Regions from separate parts of the Homo sapiens genome. Here region 1 is linked to region 2. Evidence: promoter capture Hi-C in human tissues and cell types (Jung and others, 2019). All regions are on one chromosome and are shown on one strand. The core of a region is centred on a gene start or on the middle of the fragment in contact, and the rest is flanking DNA. Distances in the headings are between cores, read along the strand shown.

The links. Contacts are between HindIII fragments. The study calls those that stand out against the background at their distance.
Region 1: the fragment with the promoter of PDE1B here is called in contact with a fragment that was not itself captured in region 2 in 1 of the 25 tissues and cell types used here (adrenal gland).

What each region holds. Positions count from the first base shown.
Region 1 is chr12:54,547,291-54,553,456 of GRCh38, reverse strand. PDE1B (phosphodiesterase 1B) reads right to left here and starts at 3,856. Exons shown (of 16, transcript NM_000924.4): 1 at 3,685-3,856; 2 at 3,472-3,597. The coding sequence starts at 3,584. NCKAP1L (NCK associated protein 1 like) reads right to left here. Exons shown (of 31, transcript NM_005337.5): 31 at 5,214-6,166. RefSeq lists an enhancer at 2,678-3,306 and a silencer at 3,872-3,931. The HindIII fragment of the contact is 5,954 bases long and covers 2,907-6,166 here.
Region 2 is chr12:54,959,140-54,964,997 of GRCh38, reverse strand. TESPA1 (thymocyte expressed, positive selection associated 1) reads left to right here. Exons shown (of 11, transcript NM_001136030.3): 8 at 1,048-1,256; 9 at 1,756-2,567; 10 at 3,731-3,830. The coding sequence ends at 3,829. Among named protein-coding and RNA genes, the nearest start is that of TESPA1, 23 kb to the left of the region's middle. RefSeq lists an enhancer at 5,628-5,677. The HindIII fragment of the contact is 3,973 bases long and covers 1,280-5,252 here.

The DNA.
Region 1 (6,166 bases), core at 2,607-5,106, 410 kb after region 2:
ACCACAGCATAGAACATTGAGCCTAGACTTTGAGGGTCCCGAGTGCGTACCATGTGGGGAAAGAAAAAGAGAAAGGGACTATGTCTATACTGTCCCAAAGGAAGGGGGAAGTTCCATCTGTAAAATGTAAAATTCCAAGAGAAACTGGAGCAGAGAAAAGAGAGTGGTGTTTGTACCATCCTGGGAAAAAGAGAACTCATATTTATGCTTTTCCTATGTATATAACCCCCCTAAAGAAAAAATGAGGCAGAAACCCAGAGTGGTAGAATTTCATCACTTGGGTGGGTGTAGCAAAACAGGGAATACAGAGCCCCCTGCCTCTCTACACCACTTGATGGAGTTGAAGCAGGTTACAAGCTCTGTAGGAAGAGGGACTATGTCTGTTTTGTCCACCACCGACTGTATTCTCAGCATCCAGCATGCCACCTGGTCCATAGAAGGCACTCAAGAAATAGTTGTTGGATAAATAAATGAGCTGAGGATGGCAAACCAATGTCTGCTCATCGTTTTTCTTGAATCACAAAAGACACAGAAAATCATTTCTATCTCTTCTGGTCTTCTTCCCATTCCCTAAAGCCCTCTGATCTCAGAGAAGGGTGGACAGCCAAGTCAAATACTTCCTCTTAGGGTTACAGATGCTGAAAATCATCCTGGCCAACTCATCATCTCCAGATGGCCTCTTTCACCCTCTCTCATGCCTCAGTTTATGAGTTTGCTTAATTAGAGAAATTGTTCTGAAAATAGGGGTAAAATCACACAGTTAAGAGATTCTCTTCAGCTCATATGATACAGATTAGATTCTGAATTTATTTTTGACAGGGTCTTAGTGTGGGAAACAGAATTCTTGGATGCTCTTCCCAACAAAAAATTGCCCTGCACTATTATATTAGTGTGGGCTTTTTATCCAGAGTCAAAAACACCAGGCCTAGTCTCCCTGAAGAAAGTCTGGATGTCCTGATTAGAAATTAAAAGGGTAGAAGGGGGGGAATAGGATGTGTTGAGTAGAAGAATCTAGATAGATAGTTAGATAAATACATACAAGTATATATGCCATGTTTCCATTTCCAAGCAGTACCCAGTCCTAAGATAATCATGTCTATTTCCTATTTCCAGACTTAGCAACCCCTTCCCACCTTGACCAAAGGGGCAGGGGGATCTTTATTTCCACTTAAAAGGGGGAACATCTCCTTTCTCACCTATTCAGAAACCATCCCATTGAGAGGGTTGGGAAACTCCCACCTCTTACCCAGCAAAGCCCTAAATCCTTTTATTTCCCTTCATCTGATAGTCAAAGCCTCCCCAATATTCAAAAAGGCAAAATCCAGTAGGCCATCAACATAGATCAAGTTGGGATCTACCTTGATTTCAAGGTCTTTCTCTGCTTTAAGGACGTAAGACTGGGAATCTATTCCTGCCAATTAATAATCCGGAGATTGTACTTTTTTGGGTAAGTTATATTACATGTAGCTAGCTTTATTTTTTACTTGTAAATTTATTGTACAAAGCTAGCATTCTTAAGGACCAGACTGCTGAAGTGAGTGAAGACCAGAATGATCTAATCAATAAGAATAGGGATCCTTGTCCACCCTAATCTCATGTAAGGACATCTCAGCTAAGGCACTCTGGAGAGACAGATGCCTCTACTCCCTTCTCTTCCCAGGTTTCATGCCTCCTTCTGGGAATCCTCTTCTCTCACCACTGAGCACTTCTCACACTAAAGGAAGAAACAACAATTCATTTTCAGGAAAGGCTTTTGGTTAGAAATGTGTGGGAGATAGTGAAACTAGTAATACCCACTCTTTCGCAGGGCCCTGTTACCTGGAATACAGGCAAGGTAAGTATGATGAGCCACTAGTGTTAGGGGAGCCATCCTGAATTCTCCCATTTATGGACCTGGGGCCCTTCTTTACCTTTCAACTACTTCCTTATCTGCCCCTTTCCCCAGCTCATTTACCATTAACGCAGCGTCATTTTCTATCAAGAATCACACAGTGCTCCTCCCAACAAAAATCAGTTCAATCTGGTTTTCCATTTCTTCATCCCAGAACTCATTCCAAGGCTGTGCTTCATAGAGCCCAGCAAATTGGATTGGCCAGAGGCAGCCAAGGAGGAGGACTGAGAAGTACATTTGGATTCCAAGCCTTGTTGCCCACTATGCCTCAGTTCTCCCTAACGCCTCTCCAAGTAGCTAGTGTATAAATCAGACCCATCTGCCATAAAAAGGTGTCATCTTATCACCATAGGTGAAGTATTTAAAGAACAATACAACATAAGCATCTATCCATCCCCTACCCCCATCTCTCCCTCTCCCAGAACCCAGAAATAGAAAGCTTCGGTGCTCACTATGGAGAACATTGAGGAGGAACTGGGTTCAGGGCTATGTTTACTGTGTTTCCTCTCTAAACATCCATAGTCTCCTATCTGTTTCCTCTTTCCTGGGGCCATGGATTCATCTCGGAGAGAGGGACATCTTCTCTTGTTCCCTGATTAAGAATCAACAGACTGCGGAGATTTCCCAATGGCAGCAGCTGACTGGGAGATAAACATGGTGCATGGCTTGTCTTTGACCCAATCCTCTTTTTTTTCTAAGGAGCAGGGGAAAAGTTCCTTTCCTCCCCTGGGACTGGAGTATCAGATACCTGAGTTCTTCCTTCCCCCATTTATTCCTCCCCACATGCCCTGGTACTGCAACAATAGGAAAAGATGCCCAAATGTGCTTGGAGATCCTGGAAGACCCTATATAAACAAAAAGCCTCTGATTAAGCCAGTTACCTTGCCTTTGTCAATCAATATTTCTTCACCATCATCACCTCCTTCAGCTTCCAGGTGGGGGCTCCAACCCCCCCTCCAGATTCCACGTGGGTCCCCTCATCATTAATACATAGAGTGAGTTTCCAGGCCCCAAGAGATGAGCAGCTCAGGCATGGGGTAACCCCCACCCCACTTCCTGTGCATGAGGCAGAAACTACCAATCCCAACTGAGATACATATGACCCACAGGTTGGCACAAGTATTCCCATGCAGTAGATCTACAGCTGTGTGCAATCACTCCACATACCTCTGTGACCCACGCTCACTCATGCACACACATGTCATGTGGCTCACATCTGCACAACTCTGCACATGGATATGTGTGAGTCAGCCTGGCACCTCTACTGCCCTCCTGCAGCCCTGCCACACTGCATATACTGTGCTGCCTCTAGGCGCTGCGTGTGTCAGCCTGGGGTCCACAGGCACAGGCACATCGTTACCTTTGCAACTCCTAAGCCCGCTCCAACTGGCCAGCTTGCTCCGCACATGCCTTGCACATGTGGCCTGGCCACGCGTGTCAGGGCCGTGCTTCCTCGCACCTGCCAACATCTGTGCCAAAGAGAATCTACCAGCCCACAGCCCTGCTCCAGTTATCCCCCCTCCTCCTCCCGCTCAGGCTCCCTAAGGTCCCTTCCCCCCATTCCCGGGCCGGGGACTTACAGAGACCGAAGCTTAATCCACATCTTCTTGCTGGGGGCTGACTTCAGCTCCAGGGGTGACGGGCAATCCGACTCCTCCAGCATCTCCGGAGGACTGCGGGGGGACAGCTCCATGCTCAGCCACGGTCTACGGAACAGAAGGAGGAGACAGCACCTCGGCTCAGCTTCAGCCCCAGCCGAGAGACCCTCACCCCCCATCCCAGGCCCTTCCCACCTGCGGCTGGCGTGGACCAGCCAGGCCGGTGTCTCTAGGCTCGGCCCAAGCTGGCAGAGCTGCAGCTCCTGCGGCTCCTCCTCTCCCGCTGCCCAGCCGAGCTTTGGGCTCCCAGTCCAAGCTCTCCGCACCGCCGCTGCTGCTGCCGCTACCGCCGCCGCCGCCGCGCGCTGCCAGAGCCGCCTCCTCGCCTCTCTCCTCCTCCCCCGGCCGGGTTCCCCCCTCCCTCTGCTCTCCCTCCCTTCTCCTCAGCCTGCCCGCCAGTCTCTCACTCCTCACAGCCACTCCTCCCCCTCCCAAAGGAACGATTGGAAGCCGGGGGCACACACAGACAGAAGCGCCCAAGGGCGAGCGCACGCACACAGGCGCCGGGGACGAGTGGCTGCGTGTGCCCTGTACTGGCGGATGTGAGTGCGTGTTTACAGAGTGCAGCGGAGGCGGCGGGCTGGACTTCGGTGTGGGTGGTTGTGTGGGTTCTCTCCGTGTGTTTTGAGTTTCTGTGTATGTGGTTGTGGTTCCATGTATCCACGTGTGCCTAGCTGCCTGCGTGTCCCATGTCTGAGTGCGGGGTAGGGGATGAGCACACATCTTTCCCTGCTAGATCTGGACTCGGAACCCAGTCGGACCAGACCCCACCTGTGCTCCTGTCTTGGAAAAGTTCAGGGTGTGCCCTGAGCTGTGATGGCATCCCACACTTGGCCTCGGGTCCCTCAGCTTGATCTTCCCCACCTGTCTCCAAGACTGTGGCCTTCTCCATGGTACTTCTGCCTGCCCGCCTAGCAGATAGGAATTTCTTCCAAGTTCAAAGCTCTCCAGAGCAGGCATCTTTTTTTTTTTTTTTTTTTTTTTTTTTTTTTTTGAGAAGGAGTCTGTGTCGCCCAGGCTGCAGTGCAGTGGCGCGATCTCGGCTCACTGCAACCTCTGCCTCCCCAGTTCCAGCGATTCTCCTGCCTCAGCCTCCTGGAGTAGCTGGGACTACAGGCGCGGGCCACCACGCCGGCTAATTTTTGTATTTTTTAGTAGAGATGGGGTTTCACTATATTGGCCAGGCTGGTCTCCAACTCCTGACCTCGTGATCCGCCCACGTCGGCCTCCCAAAGTGGTGGGATTACAGGTGTGAGCCACCGCACCCAGCTTAACATCTTCTTCTTTGACTAGGTAATAACTCTACACAGCCAGGAAAGCATTCCTGATATCAAAACCCCTCCTGAAGCACTTCCAGCTCATTTTTTCTGTTCTGTCTTCAGAGAAAGAAATCTAGGAGCTAAAGGCCCAGCACAAAACAGCCTAGCTGGTTAATAAACATTTGTGGAAGGAGTGAACTGGAATTTGAACTCAAGACCTTGTAAAAGGGCAAAGCCTCCTCCATCCAACCGAGTCCTACCTAGGACTCTTGCAGGAACCACCTCTCTTGCTCCATATTGTTCTCTCCCTTAATGACCACCTGCTTTGGCATTGGGGAAACTCCTATGTCAACAGAAAGTGGAGATATATTCACTAACTACTGAATCCAAAACAGGCCACTAATCCAGGATCCCAGAATGTGAATTTTAATTTCAAAAAATTCTGGAGGTTGGAAGGAGGAGTGATCAGGAGAAGGTATTTACTCTGTTCTAAATACTGAGTGGAGGCTCCTCCTCTCCCAGTCAGAGAAGGAGAAAAGAAGTGAAATGGAAGGGCGAAGAAGCGGATGAACTGTCACAGCTAAGACTCCTAACATAAAAGAATTGCCAAGTTAGGTCAGCATTTAGATTCAGCAGAAGTATCAGCAGAACCAGCTCCCAGAAAGTACAGAGGCAGAAAGAGATGGCAGAGTCAGAGATGGAGAAAAAAGTGGAAATAATAAGGGACTTCCCACCCTCTGTCCATCTACCTTTAGCACACATCCCTTGGCTTTTCCCCAGACCCAGCCAAGAAATGGCTGCATCTGAGACCCTAGTCACACTCCTACACAGTCCATTTCTGAAAATTTGGGAGCAATCTCCTCCTTATCAACTGAAAATGAAATGGGCTGGAAACTACAAAAGAATTGCAAATTAGGATGGTGCTAAAGAGCTCTAATTAGTAAATTAGGATTAGAGCTAAGGAGTTTCCAAATTTAGGCAGGTCTTTAAACTAGAATAGGTGGGAAAGAGGCAAGACATACATCCAGAGGGCTCTCTCAACATTTCTTGTTAACACAGTGTCACATCCTGCTCTCCCAAGACCCCCTGCTCCTGATTCATTTTAAGGCTAATTCACACACACACACACACACACACACACACACGCACACACACACAAAGTTATTCGTGAAAGAGACATTAGAGTTCATCCACTCTAATTCCCTTCATTTAATAAATGGGAAAACTTCATAGACAACACAGTTTGATGGAAAAAGTAAAAATAAAAATAAATGAGAACTAAACTAACCCAGAAAAATTATAGGGTCTCACAGAGAGTAAGTGATAAAACCAGAGCCAAGTCTATCAGCCTTTTTCAC
Region 2 (5,858 bases), core at 2,017-4,516:
AAATTTTGTCACATGACCAAATTTAGTAATTTATCCTCACTGAGCCTTAGTCCTAGTTCATACCCTAGTTCAATTTAATCAGAATGTCTGAAGATGGGATTCAAATATATGCATTTTTAAAGCCTGCAAAGGTGACCCTAACATGTAGCCATGGTTGAGAAGCACTGATCCAGTTTTACGCCCACAATTCACAGATAGGGAAACTTAGGACCATGGAGATAAAAGCTGGCAAGGACAAGAGTAGATCCAGGGATTCCGACCGTCCAGCTATTAGCTAAACAAGATGGTCCCTATTTGATCAAAAAGCCCAGCATACTTTCTGAAGAGAGTGATAGTGATTATTCAAAGCCTCAAATAATAACAGCTTCCCTTAGCCTCACTGTCTGAAACACAATTACTAAGCTCTAGTGTCACCCAAGTTGGTGGAACTCCGATTTAGACATAAATCCAGGTTGATACCATAAAGAGAGAGTGCGTGCACGGGATCTTCTGTGACACAGGACTTCTGTACTGAAAATAGTGCTAGAAAGGAGCATACCTCTCAAAATCAGGTTTTGGATGTGCTTATTGATTACTTTTTGCCCTAAGATCAAGAATAAAAATGTTTACCTTCAGGGGTTCTATGTTTCTTACATATTCATTGCTTAGTTGTCCCACGCAACAACCACTGGGGCAAGTCGGATGGCAAATTTGGGAACTGAGCACTTAATGATGCAACTGTGAAATTTATTTGTATCTATGCTGCTCTTATTTTTCAAAATCCTTTTATATTTACTTAAATTTTTATTCGTCTGCAATAAGTTGTTCAAAGTACTGTACTAAAATTTTATTCAGTTTTTATAACTAGGGTTGGATTGTAGTTTCCATGTTTCCAACAGATAATTTAGGTTCAGAGAAGTGAAAGCTTTTCTCAAAGTCACAGTGAAAAGTAGAGAAATGGACAGAAAAGAATTTCAGTCTTCTGACACTTTTATTAGATATTCTGATATTCTGAATTACCATGTGTCTCAAAGTTGTCCCTTATTTACCCAAACTCCCTCATTTCAGCATCTCAGAAATTCTGGACAAAGTGCAAGAAGATGCAGAAGATGTCCTCTTCAGTCTGGGCTTTGGCCAAGAGGATCACAAAGACACTTCTCGGATACCCGCCCGATTTTTCACCACCCCCTCTCAGGCCAAGGGCATTGATTTCCAGCTCTTCCTGAAGTCCCAGGTGCGGAGGATTGAAATGGAAGACCCCTGCCTCATGCTGGCCAGTGAGTGTCCCTCCCAGGCACCTGCTCTACTTCCCTTTTCCTTTAGATTTTCACAGCAGGGCTCAGTGGCTTCAAATCCTGCTTTCTCTTGGTTATCTTTAACCCTTTGCCTATTGTGTCTATTTCCTCTTATGTTGTCTTCAGTGAAGATGGAGAACTCTGTCTGATTCTTTCTCTTAAAGAAATAGCCTTTAAGAGACTTCAGGCCACTACTGCTTCCTTTAGGCCTTCTTGCCTTTCAGTCAATCATATCAGCATGATGTCTATAAATCTTATCCCTCTTTTTTGTTTCCCAGTTGGAATATCTACATGGGATGGGGTGTCAAGAAGTTACGAAATTCCAGAAAAAGAGTGTTAGAAATCTAAAAGGGAGAAACACTAGTAGGAAAATTGGAAGCTTCTCCCTGAATTTTGAGCTTTGGGGAGCCTCCTGAAGGGAGAGATTTAAGAAGATTTGCTGATGAACCCCAGACTTACCATCTTTAACTCTTGTACCCAGGCAGGTTTAAGCAGGTGCAAACACTGGCTGTCACTGCTGATGCCTTCTTCTGTCTCTACTCCTATGTGTCTAAGACACCTGTCCAAAAGTTCACACCATCCCACATGTTCTGGAATTGCAACCATCCAACTGATGTGCCATCCATCAGGATTCTGTCCCGAGAGCCTGAACCCCAGTCACCCAGAGACCGCCTTCGGAAAGCCATCTCCAAGATGTGTCTGTACACATGCCCCCGAGACCGGCCACCACCACCCCACAACACCCCCAAAAGGAACAGTTTGGACCAAGTTGTGTTGGAAGTGATGGACAAAGTGAAAGAAGAGAAGCAGTTCCTCCAGCAAGACTCTGATTTGGGGCAATTCTCACAGGAAGATCCTGTGCCCCCTGCTGAGGGTAAGAAGTTGCCCACTTCTCCCTATCCATGTGTCTTCTGCTGTGAAGAGGAAACACAGCAGAGGATGTCCACAGTGCTAGCACCATCCCAAACTCTGGATTCGAACCCCAAGGTACCCTGTTGCACACATTCTCTGCCCATAGAAGATCCACAGTGGAGCACAGACCCAGCTCAGATAAGGAGAGAGCTGTGTAGTCTACCAGCCACCAATACGGAAACCCATCCAGCCAAGGATGAGACTTTCTGGAAAAGAAAGAGCAGAGCAAGAAAGAGCCTCTTCCAGAAGAATCTCATGGGCAGGAAGGTTAAGTCCTTGGACCTGTCCATCACCCAGCAGAAATGGAAGCAGAGTGTAGACAGACCAGAACTGCGTCGGTCTTTAAGCCAGCAGCCACAGGACACTTTTGACTTGGAGGAGGTAAGTGGGTTGGAGGTGAGGGAGAGACTGGCAGAGAAAGGCTGTAGATTCTTTCCCAGAAGATGAAGGGTTAGAACCCTTGGGGGAAAAATAATCCAGGCTTCCTGTCCTAGCCAGATATACCACTTTCTGATTTCAATTCAGGGTTAATATACAGGGAGAAAGAGACAGAGGCCTGGTTTCCTAAGAGCAGTCGAGTTTTCAGAGCTCCTTTGGTAATACCTGATCTGATTGCCATTTAATGTTCCCATTAAGTACACCTCTCATCACCATTTGTTGTGGTCCTCATGAGATTACAAATGGAGAGCAGTTTTACACAAAGCTAACCACTCTTAAATAAAATAAATTCTCCCTTACCTTGACAAATATCTAACCATAAAGACCCAGAAGTCCAGATTTCAATCTAGGATTCTCAGACTGTTAGGACTTCTGTGCTAAAATGTGACAGTGTGAGCAGAACCACTCCCCAGCTCCTGACCTGTTCCCTTATCTTCCAGTGCCCAGACCTGTCCTATACCATAAGGGACCTTGCATGTCCATGTTTGGTTACCCGAGCCTGCACATCCAAATGCCACAAGCTCCCACCTACACAAAGAGCCATTGGTCATCATTTGGGCCTAGGCTGCATACACTACTGGAGAGGTCAGCCCTTGAGAGAACAGTCATCAGGCAAAACCAGCGCACATTCCTGCAACCGGCTTGGGGCCATTTGACCAGCAAACTTTGTGATTCTGGGTAACCAAAGAATGTTCTAGAAGGAATAGTGCAGGACTAGGTGGGCACATTCTCTAAGTCCACCAACTCTTCGTGTTCTCTAAGTCCACCAACTCTTCTGACCCTCTAAGACTCAGAACTCCTCTCGCCTGGGTCTATGGAAGATACTTCCATGAAGTGTTGGGATCTCTTTAAAAAGCTTTTAAATCCTTGCCACAAAAAGAAGCCGTGATTATTTGAAATATCATTTGCATGTATGTCACCTCTCCTTGAATGTAGAGCTACACCTCCGCTCCTGCCTTCCTCATTACTGTGTCCCTGACACCACAGAAGAGGCTGTCTCTCAAGTACACTCAGCCTCCTTCCCCTACAGCTACCTGCCACCTGCACCTTTCCTTACCCCCTTTCCCCCTTGGCTCTGGCTGAGTTCTGTGGGATCTTGGTTACAGGTGCAAAGCAACAGTGAGGAGGAGCAGAGTCAGAGTCGCTGGCCCAGCAGACCCAGGCACCCCCACCACCACCAGACTTTTGCTGGCAAAGACTCGTGAAGTAAGTGGGCCTCTCTCAGGCAGTTCTCAAACCTGGCTGCACATTGTAATCAAATGAGGAAGGTTTTTTTTTTTTAAACCCATAATAAAGGGTCCCACATTCTGTAATTCTGATTTAATTGGAAACCAATGACTAATTATTTTAAGCTTCCAGGTAATTCTATTATGGCTGGAAAATACCTCTCTAGATCAATGATGCCCAGGCTTTGGCAGGCATCACAATCACCTGGAGGGCTTGTTAAAATACAAATGACCAGATCCCAGCTCCCAGAGTGTCTGATTGAATTGGCCTGGATAGAACCAAAGAATTTGCATTTCTAAGAAGTTCTCAGGTGATGCTATTGCTGCTGGTCTGGTAATCACAGTCTGAGAACTGCTGTTCCAGGAGACATTGTGTAGAACTTTAATATTCAAACTGTAGTGTACAGATACAAGGAGCATCAGCATCCCCTGGGATTTTGTTAGAAATGTGGACTGTCAGCCCCCACCCCAGACCTAATGAATCACAGTTTTACCAAGATCTTTAGGTTAGATAATTGATTGCATATTGAAGTTTGAAACTCATTGTAGTAGAAGTTTTGTAACAGGTGAGGACCAGCCATGGAAATCAATATCCCAACACCTGCTTTCAGCTATGTTCTAATCAGCCCACATCATTGAACTCAGAGCAGACTCCTCAATGTACCTCACAGCTATGCTCATTTAGGGTCTGAGCTCCCTTCTGCAACTGTGGTCTGATGAAGGTAGCTCTCCCTCCCCTCCTCAAAGCAGGAAATGAATTTCACATTGTTATTTATTGCAGCTAAAATTTCTTTCCTCCAGATATGAGTTTTTCAGTATTAATTTTTTCAGAGATATCTCTTATACCTTTAAATAGTTTGGCCAGTAATTTATTATTTAAACTAATGAAAATTAATCTTTCTGTAGTTTTAACCACCTATCTGCTACAACCACAAAGAAAATGGCATAAGGGATAATGGTATTTTCCCCAGATAGTATAAATTAAAATCTTTATTGAATTAAGTAAATAAATCTTGCTTAGAGATTCCTTTATTTTGGATATCTTGGTACCATTTTCTACATTTTCTAGTCTAATTGTTTTCTTAGTTAATACTCCAAAATTTCAGTGGTACTTGCTCAGACACACAAAGATATTTACAATTCTAACTGTTTTAATTCTAATTCTCTGTGGTTTTAGGAATCTAATCACTCTTGTTTCTCTCTTACCTACTACCTACATCTCAGGGTATATGAATCATATGTATGTATTTAGTCACAAAAGAGGTAAATAGCAGAAGGCATCAATATGTCATATGCACTTCAAGAAGTTTCAGATGGTTTCAGTTGCTGGTCTGGCATGTTAGGAGCTAGAAGCGGCCACTCCACCCAAACAACAAGTAAAAACCTGAACAGACTGAAAAATTAGTAACCGTTCTAGACCCATCAGAGAAGTGGGTCACAGGGCAAACCACTTCTCCTCAAATTAGAGAAATAGGCAAATGCAAAGATTTATGACTTGTTAGAGCAAAAACCCCAAAGCATAAACTCCCCCAGGAATCAGAACCACGGTAGAGAACCCGGACAATAACCGAGGAATTACTGGATGCTCAGCATGGACCAGTCTGAGAAATAAAAACTCTAGGGAGACCCAGTCATTGGGAGGCCCCTTGTTTCTGGGAGTCTTACTTCTAGGAGCTCAACCATGTTCTCACAGGAAATACTGGAGAAAAATCCCCTAGTGTTTCCCGCAGGGGGCGGGAGAAAGGAACCATTTTGAAATGCAGCAGAGCATTCTATTCCTCTTAACAAAGTCTTCCCTCGGGAGAAACTAGATACCAAAAACCTAACCGGATGAGGTTTTATCAGAGACTAACCGACCTGAAGGAAGGGAAACACCCAACTCCTGCCTACTCTAGCCATCCCGTCCCATTAAAGGGGACAGAGAGGATGAGAAGCACAGGTGAGAGTCACAATCCAGAGGCACAGTCTCACTGGAAGACTGAGACCTAACCATAAGACCATGGAACGC